Linked DNA regions of Homo sapiens: regions 2 and 3 are each linked to region 1. The links are contacts of gene promoters, found by promoter capture Hi-C in blood cells and fetal thymus (Javierre and others, 2016). All regions are on one chromosome and are shown on one strand. Each heading gives the region's core, a stretch centred on a gene start or on the middle of the fragment in contact. The rest is flanking DNA. Distances are from core to core; before and after follow the strand shown.

Evidence for each region. The method cuts DNA at HindIII sites, captures the fragments that hold promoters and counts their contacts. A CHiCAGO score of 5 or more calls a contact.
Region 2: a fragment that was not itself captured here is called in contact with the fragment with the promoter of ROBO3 in region 1 in 1 of 17 cell types (non-activated CD4 T cells); the score reaches 5.1 in non-activated CD4 T cells.
Region 3: a fragment that was not itself captured here is called in contact with the fragment with the promoter of ROBO3 in region 1 in 1 of 17 cell types (neutrophils); the score reaches 5.1 in neutrophils.

Annotation. Positions count from the first base shown.
Region 1 is chr11:124,863,143-124,867,287 of GRCh38, forward strand. It overlaps ROBO3 (roundabout guidance receptor 3), which reads left to right and starts at 2,290. Exons shown (of 28, transcript NM_022370.4): 1 at 2,290-2,595. The coding sequence starts at 2,436. RefSeq lists enhancers at 1-266, 2,606-3,282. The HindIII fragment of the contact is 17,224 bases long and covers 1-4,145 here.
Region 2 is chr11:125,138,139-125,142,206 of GRCh38, forward strand. No RefSeq gene overlaps it. Among named protein-coding and RNA genes, the nearest start is that of PKNOX2-DT, 24 kb to the right of the region's middle. RefSeq lists an enhancer at 3,653-4,068. The HindIII fragment of the contact is 994 bases long and covers 1,830-2,823 here.
Region 3 is chr11:125,169,645-125,173,913 of GRCh38, forward strand. The region is part of intron 1 of PKNOX2 (PBX/knotted 1 homeobox 2); the gene reads left to right. Among named protein-coding and RNA genes, the nearest start is that of PKNOX2, 7.0 kb to the left of the region's middle. The HindIII fragment of the contact is 7,759 bases long and covers 1-4,269 here.

The DNA.
Region 1 (4,145 bases), core at 1,040-3,539:
GAGGTGAAGTGTAGGAGAGACAGCAGATTCCTGGAAAGTAGAGTGGCCCGGCTATTTGTCCAGCCTCCAAACCCACGTGACAGGGACTGTGAAGCAGCCTTGCTCACGGGTTGAGCCGCGCCTCCGCTCAGGGAACCCTGAGCAAATACGCCCTGATCCCCACATAAAGGGCCAATTAACTGCGCCGTCTCCGGGAACAAATCCGCTAACAGGGTGACAAGCCCCTAGACGCTGGCAGGCCCTGTGTTTGCGGAGAGGCCAGCCGGGAGCAAATCAGGGCATTAGGACCGGGCAGGAGCCGCATGGTGGGAGGGTTTCTGGCCCCCTCCGCCCCAGAGTAGGGCCTGGTACCAGGACGTGGGGTTTCTATCCCGATTCAGCCTCTGCTGTGATGGAACCCAGGTGACCGCGGTCAGCAGGGGGCGGAGCAAAGGGCCCCGGAGCCTCGAATCTCACAGGTCAGAGTAGATCAAGCACTCCAATTCCTCCTTAACAGATGGGAAAACTGAGATCCAAAGCGGTGACGTCTTGTACTTGGCAAACGTAGAATTAGAACCCACTTCTGTGTTGGTCATTCCTGAAGGATAGATTTCGGGTGGGAAATACATCCCTTACTTTCTCTCTTATCTGAATACCACCCTGGAGCGAGGAAGGGAGGGGCGTCAAATCTCTTATTATCTTCTTGCTTTTGAAAGGATGTGTCTCTAGCCCGTCTCCCACCTACCCCAGTCCTCAGCCTCAGGGTCTGCTCGGATTTATGTCTTCCCTGGGGGCTCCAGGGCCCTAGTCAGGCACCTGCAGATGAGGTGCTGAAAAGGACAGCTCCCAGGGCGCTGCGTGGCGGTGGGGTGGGGGGTCCATCCGGCCCCACCCCCACTCCCACCTACCCCCTCCCCCACACCTAGTGCTTCCAGCCTTTCTACGTCCCGCCCAGAACTGCTAGGGTTGGAAGGCACCTAAACACCCATAGTTGGAGGCTCACAGCCAGGCGCCTGGACTGAGGAAGGAGGCTTGGAACAAGCCCCCCACCCCTTGACAATGTCTCGGGTTCCCTTGAACAAGCTCTGCCTGAAATATTTCAATTCTTGATTCTGCTTACTCCAGAGTCTGCGACTGTATAGCACCCACCCCTCTGATCTCGACCCCTTTGGGGTCAGAAGCAGTCGCCCCATGAAAGTTGTCTCATCCCAGAACCTGACGGCTGAGCCAGAACTCTGGCACTGACTCTTCAATCAGCAGGGCCTTACCTCAGGTTAGGAATGCCCCGGCCTCTCTCTTTCCCTGATACCCCAAAGCCATCTCCTGTCTAGGAAAGTGAGTTTGTCGAGGTGGGTCTTCAGGTAGAAAGAACTCCAGAAAAGTCAGAAGCAGACCGCGACTGGAAGTGGGAGGTGGGAGTAGGGGCCCATGGTTTTCTTTTCGCCCCCCCCAGGAAGGACGACTGCTATCCGATTTGAACAGATTTGCACTAATTTTGCAGCAATCCCACATGCCTTTACAAAAATAATATTATCTTTGTTTTTGTCCTAGAATCCTTGGTTCCATTTCAGTCTCCTCAAAAACGTAAAACAATTTAATAAAAAATGTCAAAGCAGGGTAATGTAAAAGGATTCAAATAAATGACAGTTGCCTGGGTTTCCCTGGCTTTCAGTCTCCTACAGGAACTCCTAGATTAGGGCGTTTGGAGCAGGACTCCCGGGTCAGGGCGCGCCGCTCCATCCTCTGGCCTCCTGGCTGCAGACCAAAGGACCAGAGGGCAGAGAGGTGGACCTGTCTTGGAATTCTCTGCCTACTCCCAACTCTTGCTGCAAACCACCCCAGTCTCCTGCCCTTCCGTCGCCAAACCCCTAGACTTGGGAGGGAATGGAAACCAGAACTTTGGCAGCAAGGAGCATTGCTTGCGCTTTGCCTCAGTTTCCAAAAGGTTCGGGAAAAGAGAGGACAGATTCCTGTTCTAAAGTTGGGCAGAAGGGCAGAGTCCGACAGAGCCTCGTCCCTCATCTTGGGTGCTTTGAGACAGGGAAAATCTCTCGCCGCGTCCAGAACGGAACGCTGGGCTTGGGGTGCGGGGCGGGGACTCCAACTCGCGCGCTACGCTACTCGTGTCTCCTGCTCGGATAGTGACTGTAGAGGTAAGGGTGGGAGGGTGGAGGGAGGCGGATTAATCCCTTAATTACGCCGTGATCGGCGTGGCACCTGCTTTCCGCCTGCCCAGCTCCCAGGGGACTCCGGCACTAGGGGGTGGAGAGAAGGACGAGGGAAGGAGGAGGGCACGAAGAGGCACCGACCGTACCCAGGCGCACCGGCAGGAGAGCGGCACCGTGGCTGCCGCAGCGCGCAGAGGCTGTGGAGGGGCTTACGGCTCCCAGCCCACGGGTCTCAGACCCAGGGGCTGGGCCCCCAGCCCCCAGTCCCGATCCCAGCTGGGTCGAGCCATGCTGCGCTACCTGCTGAAAACGCTGCTGCAGATGAACTTGTTCGCGGACTCTCTGGCCGGGGACATCTCCAACTCCAGCGAGCTGCTCTTGGGCTTCAACTCCTCGCTGGCGGCGCTCAACCACACCCTGCTGCCTCCCGGCGATCCCTCTCTCAACGGTGAGACCCTGCCTCTTGGGGATATGGGATCCTGGGATGGGGATGAGGTGAGAGGGCGGCGTGGAAGGGAAGGAGAAGCGCTCCTGTCCCGAGGTCCGGGATTGAGTGGCGCCTCCCAGCGCCTCCCTGGGTCGTGGGGTCTAAGGGATAATTTGGAGCTTCGAGCACATGAGTGGGGGTACCCGCGGGAGGTCGAGGGCTTGGGAGAAGATGGCTACTGAGTCTTTTTACACCTCCTTCCCTTCCCCTACAACGCCCACCCCAGGTGAGAAGAACCGTTGCTGGTAACGGGCAGGGAAGTCCGAGCTAAGAAAGGCCCGGGCCCAGCGCAGGGAGGGCAGAGGAGGGGGCACAGTCTCCCGCCGGCCTCGGCCAAGCCAGGTCACTCGGTGACCCACCCAGGCAGCTGGTCTTCGGAACCCCGAAGTTTCCCAAGAACTCACTTAGGACCAGAGGAAGCCAAAATGCTGGATGTGTTTGCTACGGAGGGGATAGGGGCGGCGATCATTTTAAGGAAACTTAGAAGTTTGTCTTTCAGCGGCGGGACTCTCAGCCGGCCCACCCCGGCAGAGCTGTGGCGGGCGGGCGGAGCTGGCGGCGAGGTCGTTACCGCTAATTACGGTGATTAATAAATGACTGGGACAGCGCGCTCTCCCCTAGCGCCGCGGGGAAGCTGCGGGAGCCGGCCGCCGCCAGCCTGCGGAGAGGCCGGAGCGCGCCCCCTGCCTGCCGCATCGGGAACCCCCGCTTTACCGGGCGCTTTCGCGTGTGGTTCCCTCCAGGTGCACGCGGTCCCCATCCCTCTGCCTCGACCCACTCGAGTCTAGTGACGAGCACTGTGCTGGGGACTCGAAGGTGGAGAGAAAGGAGACCCTGGCAATATGTGTGTGTTCATGTGTGGGGCACATCAGGTGCTGAGGGAGGAGCCCCAGAGCCTCATTAGCATGGCCATTAGCTATTCATTAGGCTGCAGTCGAAGCATCTCCTGAGACCGGGAAGGGTAGAGGGGGAAATTCCAGGGAAAGGGCGCCTGCAGCTGTGTCTACAGGAATTAGGGGGAAAAGGCCGACCAGAAGGGTGTGGTCCGTATAGAAGGATTGGGGAGAAAGACGATGGGGGAGGAGCCCGATTCTCCAACCTCTTGACCCTCCTAGATTTCCAGGAGGTTAAGCACAGATCCCTTCTCGCTGGCACCCCGCAGAGTCCCGCTTCTGCTCACCTAGCGCGTTTACAGAGTGTTTTCACCATACTTTGTCTCATCTAAGCTCGAAACTTAGTGAGGTATGCAAGGAAGGTGTTGACAGACACATTTTGCCGCCGAGAAAACGCTTTATAGAGTGAATGGTGCCCTAATCGTCACAAAAGCAGCATGAAGCAAAACCTAGCGATAACAGATCAGTCCATTTCCATTACACCTGAGGGCTATACCAAGGGGAAAAAAGAATATTGGGGCCTGGTAGAATTTGATTCAGGTAGAGACTGTAGGAGCCAAGATAAGGTGCATATGCTGGGAACACAAGCCCTTAAATAATGGCAGAGTAGTGACGTTT
Region 2 (4,068 bases), core at 1,077-3,576, 280 kb after region 1:
GATTAAGAAACCCTTTCAGTCTGCCCTTTTTCATTCGGCCACCATTGATTTTTTTTGCTTCTGTGTTCATAACTGAGTTTGAAATTAATGTAGGATTATTATTGATTTATGTATGTATTTATTTTCTTTCCTCTTGGAATGTAGCATCTTAGAGGCTGGATTCTGAATAGAATTTGAAAGAGCATCCGCTGCAGGAGGAGAGTTTTAGGTTAGGGAAGTATTGTTCAGAGTTGTCTGAATGGGGAAGGACTGGAGAACAGTGTTAGTTACACTCCTCAGAAGGACTGAGGCAAGCTGCTCTCCCCAGGGAGAACATTCTTATTGGTTTAGTTTAGGCCTCGCTAGCCTCCAAGACTCGCGTGGATGTAGAAAAAAGGCAGTTTTTCCTCTGGGGGAGTCGCTCTGATCTTGCCGGATTCTGGTTCACTCCTAAAGGCACTGGCAGAGATGAAGTTTTGGCCAAGCTCCCCCATGGCCCAGCGTGCCTGCAAACGACACTGCTCTCCTAACCCCAGCTACAGTTGGGACACACTGATCGGACCTGGGCATGGGTAAAGCTCCATGGTATGTTGTAAGTCACCAACCTCTGAGGTCTATAAGGGTTCCCTGGCCTCACCCAATTTGTGACATAAGCCTTGTGGTTATCACCCCAATCCCTTGGACCCAGGGATAGGGATGCCAGACAAAATACATGCTAGCCAGTCAAACTTGAATTTCAGATAAATGATGAATGATTTTCAAAATGTTAGCGTAGTGTATCCCGAAGATCGCAAGAGACAGATGTATGGCTCTGTTCCTCTCCACCCTGCTCTTCACACACACTCAGAGTCAGAGGCTTGCCCCCTGCTCCATTTTCCCTTGAAGCCTCTAACCTTCAGCAACCTTGATTCCTTCTTCCTTCAGTCTCCTTGCCTCCAGCCGGGAAGCCAGACTCCCCCCTGCTCAGCACTGCTGCTGATGCTTACAGGTTAGGGGAAGGGTCCACGTGGAGGCCCTGGCCTCAGGCCCCCCGCTGCACCCCGCTGCTGATACTTACAGGTTAGGGGAAGGGTCCACGTGGAGGCCCTGGCCTCAGGCCCCCCGCCCCACTCCAGTTCTTGGCCCCAGCGCTGTTCTGTGTTTGAGGAGCCTGTGGGCCTTGGTCTCAGATCTTTCCACACTCCACCCCACCTTTACCCAGACAGCTGTCCCTTGGCCCGCCTGCTCACCTGCCATGTGGTCTGGAACAGGGAGGGTGTTCCTGGAGAAAAGCCTTTGTGGGCTCTCTGAAAAGCCCAGGGTCAGGCAGAGACCCAGCATGGGTCCCAGTGCAGCCCCGCTGTGGTTCTGGAGAGGCTGTGTGGCCATTCTTTTGGCCGGTGGCCACTGCTTCTGGATTTCTTCATTCTCCTTCAGAGGGTCCCGTGAAGACCAAGGCATCGGCTGGTTTACCCTCACTGCTGCGTCCCTCCTTTCGCCCTCCTTCCCCACCACAGCTACCATCTCCCTTCCTCTGTCCGGGACAGGATGTAGGGTTTCCATTCCCTTGAACACACAGGTCACTGGGGCGGAGGGGAAGTCACCAAATTTAATTTAACAAAATCTTCACAACCCAACAGTTTCAGTGTAGTGTGTTCCTAAGGCGACAGAGGAACAGATAGAAGGGAGAAACGAGCGTGGGGAGAACCATTGTTATTTGGGAAAGAATTCAACCAGTTTTCACTCCCTTCCCCCTCCCCCCCTGCTTTGGGCAGAATTCAGCTAGTTATTTTCCAATCCGGTTGTGTGTATAGACACACCACAGCTTCTTTGATCCCTGCCTTTCCTCCTAATAGACAAACTGCTGCCAAAGCTTCCAGCTTCTTTCTCCATGGTGACCAAGCCCCTCATTTCCATTTAATCTCAGCCTCCACCTCCCCTGTACCCCACCCCCTCCTTCATGTGGAGCTGGTTATTTCCTTTCTCTTCTCTCATTTCTCTCCCCTTCCCCCAGCAGTTCACAATCCTCTTCAAAGTTTCAGGAGTAAATATCAATGTGTGATGGTTCCTTCCTTTCTCCCCGACCTGCCTCTTTCTACTCTCTACCCCTTTTCTCTGGTGGCTCCCAAATCTTTGCTCTTCTTGGCTCTTCAAACACATTCCTCTTAGTTCCCCCTCAAACTCCCTTTCCTGCTCCAGTCTCTGGCCTAAGAGATGTGAAGATGCAGAGGAGGGAGGCAGGAGGGACGGGCCTCCCACTTCCCTACTTCCTTTCAGCAGACCCCTGAAGAAAAGAGGCGGAAGGAACTAGGAATGGGATGAGTTGGGTTCTTGCCAAGGGGCCCTCCCTCCCCTCCCTCCTCTGTCTCCGAGCTCTGCCTGCACTCGGGTTCACGCGGGAGAAGATGAATCTGCAGCACCAGCCCCTGCCAGTCTCCCACAGCCAGGGTGGCCAAGCCCTCAGGGCTCTGCAGGACAATCCTCGGCGTCTGCTGCTGCTGCTGCTGCTGCTGGAACCTTCTCAGGGTGTCCTCTGCTGGCAGGCAGGCTTCGCACACAGGTGAACAGAACTCACCACCAGTGAGAAAGCTGGCCGTCTCACACCTTGGCTAGTTTGTGAAACCCAACTCATTCCACCAATGTTGCCTCATGGACTGGCTTTGGAAATTCCATTAATAGCTCCTCTCTGGCCTTGAAGCCTTGCTACCCTAATCCATCAATGACCATTTCACAACCGGGGAATGACATCTGTCCATGTACTCACTTTTTATGGTCCGGTCCTTTACAGCCTACACACATTCTTCCTGAAGATCTCTTACTGGGTCCTCATGATAATGAAATTCCAGCTGTGCAGAGGGAAACTGAAGCTTGCAGAAATTAAATATATTCACCAAATATCTGAACAAAGAAGTAATCGGTGGAGCCAGGGCAAGAACCCAACTCATCCCATTCCTAGTTCCTTCTGCCTCCTTTCTTCAGGGATCTGCTGGAAGGAAGTAGGGAAGTGGGAGGCCGCACACTCTGGCACAAGGCAAAGGGGTTAACAGGAGTGTGTTGACTTTTGTCCTTCTGCCAAGTCCCCTCACATCCAATTTACATTGTTATACAATGCTGATCTGTACCATTCTTGTTAATGTTTCTTTATAGATGTTTTAGTTATGTCTGTCCCATATGTGCGTCTGACTTTTTTCGTAGAATCTGAGCTAGCTCCTTGCTGCACTACTACCCCGGGAATCAGAACAGGTTTCCGCATGCAGCTCTTTGGTGAGAGTGACTTAGGGCCCCTCGAGGGACATGAGAAAACGATTTCGATACCGTGAACACTGGGGCAGGTAGAAACCCAACTTATCCCAGCTTTTCCATCTTCCTGCCAGGCCCCGGCCGGGCTTCCCAGCCTCCTCGTTAGCCTCTGTGAAAAATTAAAGCCCCAATAATCAAATCAACCCTTGTAAATGCTCTAAAAGCCGCTCCAGAGCACCAAGGAGCCAGCAAACCCCAGACCCAAATCCATGTCAAATTTCATAGATATAATTTAAGCAGGGATCAAAACCCACACTAACCTAGTAACTAAGGCTGCTCAAAATGCACTTTATAGTCCATCTGCCTCTCTGCTTCAGGGAGTCTGTATTAAATTTATTGCAAAGTAAAACAAATAAACCCAGGCAAAGGCAAGATGGAAATCTGCATACTGTCAGAGAATTAGCAGCCCTCTCGGGTTAGGAAGGCTGCCTCTCAATTTGCATCTCTAAGGAGTTGTGACTGGGCTGGGGGGCTGGGATGGTCGGGGCAGGACGGAGACTCGGAGCAGGCCTGCCCCCTGCTGGCTGACTGTAGAACTACAACCCTCTGGCCGCGGTGGTGGGCTCTGCAGGGCTCGCCCCGCCAGCTTTTGAAAGACAATCTGCAGCTGAAATAAATGTTGAAAAGGTGTGGAATTGGAAGAGCACGTAGTAGAAAGAGGGGAGGGAAGGGCTCTGTGGGGAAGAGATCCTCATTTCTGAACATAAAGCTTGAGGAAGGCGGGAACTTGAAGTGGGTGGATATAGAGTTTCAGAGCTGTCTTTTCTGTTGTAGGAACAGGAGACTGCGGTGCATTTCTTGACTCCTCTT
Region 3 (4,269 bases), core at 1,358-3,857, 310 kb after region 1:
TCTCACTAGGGTGAGATGATGGGCTTGGATCAAGCACAGGCTGCGCTCTGAGTAAAAAAAATGGGAGATAGAGGCTTCTCAGCAGCAAAGTCACATTCTTCGGTGTGTTTTCTTTCCTCGCCTGGCTCCAGGGCCTTCCCCACAACTCTCAGGAGTTCTTAGGCTATAGTAAAGGGGCTGAATTCCTGCCTTGCATTACATCCTAGAATTTGAAAGGCCTGCTGTGACTCCAAAAACCATCTACACTTTACCAAGAGGGGCAATTTTGGCTGAGTTGGGGGATCCAGCCCGCTTCTTCCAAATGGTGTTACCTGGAATAGCTGTCCTGTATCAGACGAATGCAGAATCTGACTTATCAGAAATGCAGCCCCTTCTCTTTATTCCACTGGGAAGGCAAGGCCTGAGCCCTGACTGGTGTGTGTGTGACATCTGGTCGGCTGAGGGGGTTGGGTGCTGGTCTGCAGCTAGCCACGGCCTGAACCTCTCTTAGCAGTCTCTGCTGGCAGATCAAAGCAGATTCTGGGCCAGAAAGCCCAAGAAGTTACACCCGGCACTTACACAAAACTGTGTGTGCGCTCGTAGACTCCTTCTGTTCCGGTGTCTGATTTGTAAAAGCTAGCTCTGATCCTGGAGACGCGGCTCTGGTGGAATGCTTGTCTTTAATACTCCCTAGTCTTTGGGGATTCCTTGGGGTAATTTTTCCTCCTCATTTCCTTCTCAGCCAATCACAGGCAACATCTTAGTCTCCATTTTGATTGGGGGTGGGAGACAGGGCTGGGGGTTGAGAGAGCAACAGTTGGAGGGCACAGTCTTTCTACCTGAACTCCAGGTTTTCCTCCCGTCCAGAACCCCCAGGAGAGAGGGAGAAGCAAGCCCGGGACAGCTCAGTTCATCTCACGCGGTCAAGCAGAGCTTGAGAAGAGCTTGCTGCAAATGCGTTGTCTTCAAGGGGATCTGCTGTTTGGCTTGGATGCCTCACTGCAGGCCCGGCCTGCCTGGGTTTCTAATTACAAGAAGGACGTTTCTGCTAAGACCTATCTCACTAAAAACACATCCCTGTGTGTAATAAGAAACCCTAAACCAGGCAGGATATTTTAAAACTGAAGCAATGAAGATTAGATTAAGTCTCCACCAAACAGCTTCGTTCTTGTATTATTTTTGGCTGGAATGTGGAGAAAAGCAGCTGGCCCTGGGGCCCAGAGCAGACTCTGGAGAGTTCGGATAGGGCCGGGGTGGGTGGGGTAACTGTTAGTTTTCTGCTTAGTAGGAACGTGGCCAATTTGAGTACGGCTCAGTCAAGGCAGTGGGGGTGCCCAGTGGGGGAGGGGGGAGGCTGGGGTGGAGGAGGAGCCAGATCCAGATGGGCCAGAAAGCGGCCACAGAAGCAGCAGGTCACAGGGCACTGAGGCTTGTAAATCCTCCACCTCATTAGGACGTAGTCTTTTGTGTTCAATTTACATCTCTACTCACATCGCCATCCCAAATCTAGTAGAGAGGGAACAAATAGTTGTTGAGGATTCTTGGAAATAGAACCCAGTAATCGGGCATCATGGGCAGGTGTCCTGCCTTGCTGGGGAGGGGCAGCATGGCATTCACCCATTCCCTTTGTTCTTCCATTCAGCAAATATTTATAGAGCATCTTCTGTGTCCCCGGCACAGTCCTAGGCATTGAGGAGACAGCAGCAAAAACAAAGCCAAGACATTGCCATGAAGCCTGTCCTCAAGGAGCTTGCTTGTGGTGGGGGCGGTGTTGAGTATGGGCTTTATTTAGCATCAGGCAAAACTTCATTTAGAGCCTAGCCCTGCTCTTTACCTGTCATATGGATCTAGACAAGTTGCTTAACATCTTCGATCCAGTTACCCCATTTGTAAATTGGGAAGTAAAAGCACATAGCTCACAGGACTGTTGAGGGGCATCTGTTAAGTCCCTAGCACGGTGTCTGGCACAGAGGAGAGGCTCAGTCATGGTTGACTCTCCTCTGTCATGTTATGTTGGAGCTGATGATCCAGTTGGAGGATTACCCCTTTCCCTTTCCTTTTGCTTCCCCAGAACCTGGCTTGGGCCCTTTTCCAGGTCACTGGCGTCTTCAACCAGCGTTGCACAAATAGCCAGTCAATGCTGTGGCCTGGTGCTGCCTGCTGTGCACAGCCCTGGCAGAGGCTGCAGTAGAAAACAGGTACACAGACCCTGAGGACACTTTGGGGATGAGGGGTGTCTGGGGTTAACAGTAGAGAGGGCACATACAATACACAGACCTGAGAGATGATGGACAGAGAGGTGACGTGGAAAAAGCCACCAACCAGGTGTTAACCACAGGAGACAACAGTGGGGCAGGATGTGGAGTGACCAGGACAGAGTGGAGTCACAGGGCAGACTTCTGGGAGGAAGGGAGCCTCTGCAGAGTGTTAGAGGAGGACTGGCTGAGCGGCTGGCCAGTGGGGGCATGAAACATGAGCCTCCTAGGTCATGGTGCTCTGCGCTGTCCTGGGGACTGCAAGGGAGCAGCCTGGACTAGAAGGAGGAGCTTAGCCCCCTCTACCTATCCCAGGTGGCCAGAAGTGGGCTGTCCCTGCCCCAGGAGCACCAGGTAAGGCCTTGTTGTTTGGGTCCAGTTTCCCTTACACACTGAGGGATTTCCGAGCAGACCTTTCCACGTTGGCTTCTCAATGGGTAGAACTTAGACCAATGAGTTGGTGCATGAGGCAAACAAATCACTTCACTCCTGGTTGCAACATGGCTTTCTTACCTAAGATCCCCTTTTTCCCTAAGCAGAGAGAGCAGAGACTATAGGCCCACATCCAGCCCTCTTCCATCTCAGGAACCATGAAGCTGATTGATATCAGGGTGATCGGGATGGTGGAGAGAAAGGGGGGACTGGTAGTCTGAGCATGGTGGATTCCACTGTGGACTCAGCCACTGACTGACTGTGTGACCTTCAACAAGGGACTTACCTTCTCTGGATGTCAGTGTCCTCACTTATCCAATGAGGAGCTTGAACTTGCTCTCAGAGGTCCCCTTCTACTCAAAGTTCCATGATTCCATATTTCCTCCCAATTGGATTGCTTCGTGGCTTTGTGGCTAGGCAATCATTAAAACCACCGCCACCGCCACAAATCCGAGCAAAGAATCATGATGACATTCAACAGACTGCAGGGGCTTGGCCCCTGTGGTATAGAGTCTTAAGGACAGTGGGGGCCTAGGGGTTGGTTCTGACCCTTCTGATGGCCTGCCTGGGACAAATGGATGTTCCTAGCGATAGGGGATGGCTCCATGAGGCAGCAATTTCAGTCTGAAAACTCACTGGCTTCTTCATAAAAAGCAGCATTTACTTTTCTTGTTGAGACAGCGTGGGGCTAGGGGAAGGAACACAGGCTTTGGAGTCAGATTCTGGGTTCTGACCCTGGTTCTACTACAGCTAAGCAGTGTGCACATCACTTAACCCCTCTGAGCCTCCGTTTTCTTGGCTTTATAGGTGAGGATAATAATACTACCAAGCATATTTAAGACTGCTGTGAAAACTCTGGAAGAAAACATCTGTAAGTGGTTGGCACATGGCAAGCTCATGTTGAATAAATATTAGTCTTCTGTCCTAATAAAGCTCATTCTCACATGCCCTTGTGTGATCCTCTTAGCCTTGTGAAGCAGGTAAAATGGGCATTGTATCATTTTATAGGTAAGAGAAACTGGGGCTCAGAGAGTGGCTAAAGTGGCAGGTCCAGGAAGTGGGTGCAGGTGTGTCTGTGTGTAGCAATGGAGCACATTATTTAGGGTAGCCCAGGCTTATCTTCTATGATGATGGTTCTTCCTTTAGCCTTCTGGAGACAACACAAGCCATTCCTGAGCTCTACCTAGTCCTCTCCCAAGATCTTTCATAAAAGAACCAGCTAAACTCATCTCCTCCATTACTCGAATCTTTGGCAAATGCTGGGAAGAGCTACTGTTGTGAAAACCAAAGTCTAGAAGATCTGTTTTTTACTTCCACAAAGTCTTCAGTCTCAGGTGGGGCTGGGAGGGCCCGCACTAAGAGGCAGAGGTAGATTTAGGAGCAGGGGATATCTCATGGCTATGAGTGGGGGCAGCGAGGCTGCAGTGTGGCCTTGGTCTGCCAGCCCAGGTGTAAGCTGGACCCCTGGGTGGAAAGAATTCCCTCGGGGGCTCGTGCCCGTGGTCATCAGCTCACAATCCAGACAGATGTCAAGCCGACAAACACCAAGGGGAGTTTAGCCCGTTAGTGGTAGCATCTGTCTAATTCCTATTAGGTAAGGGGA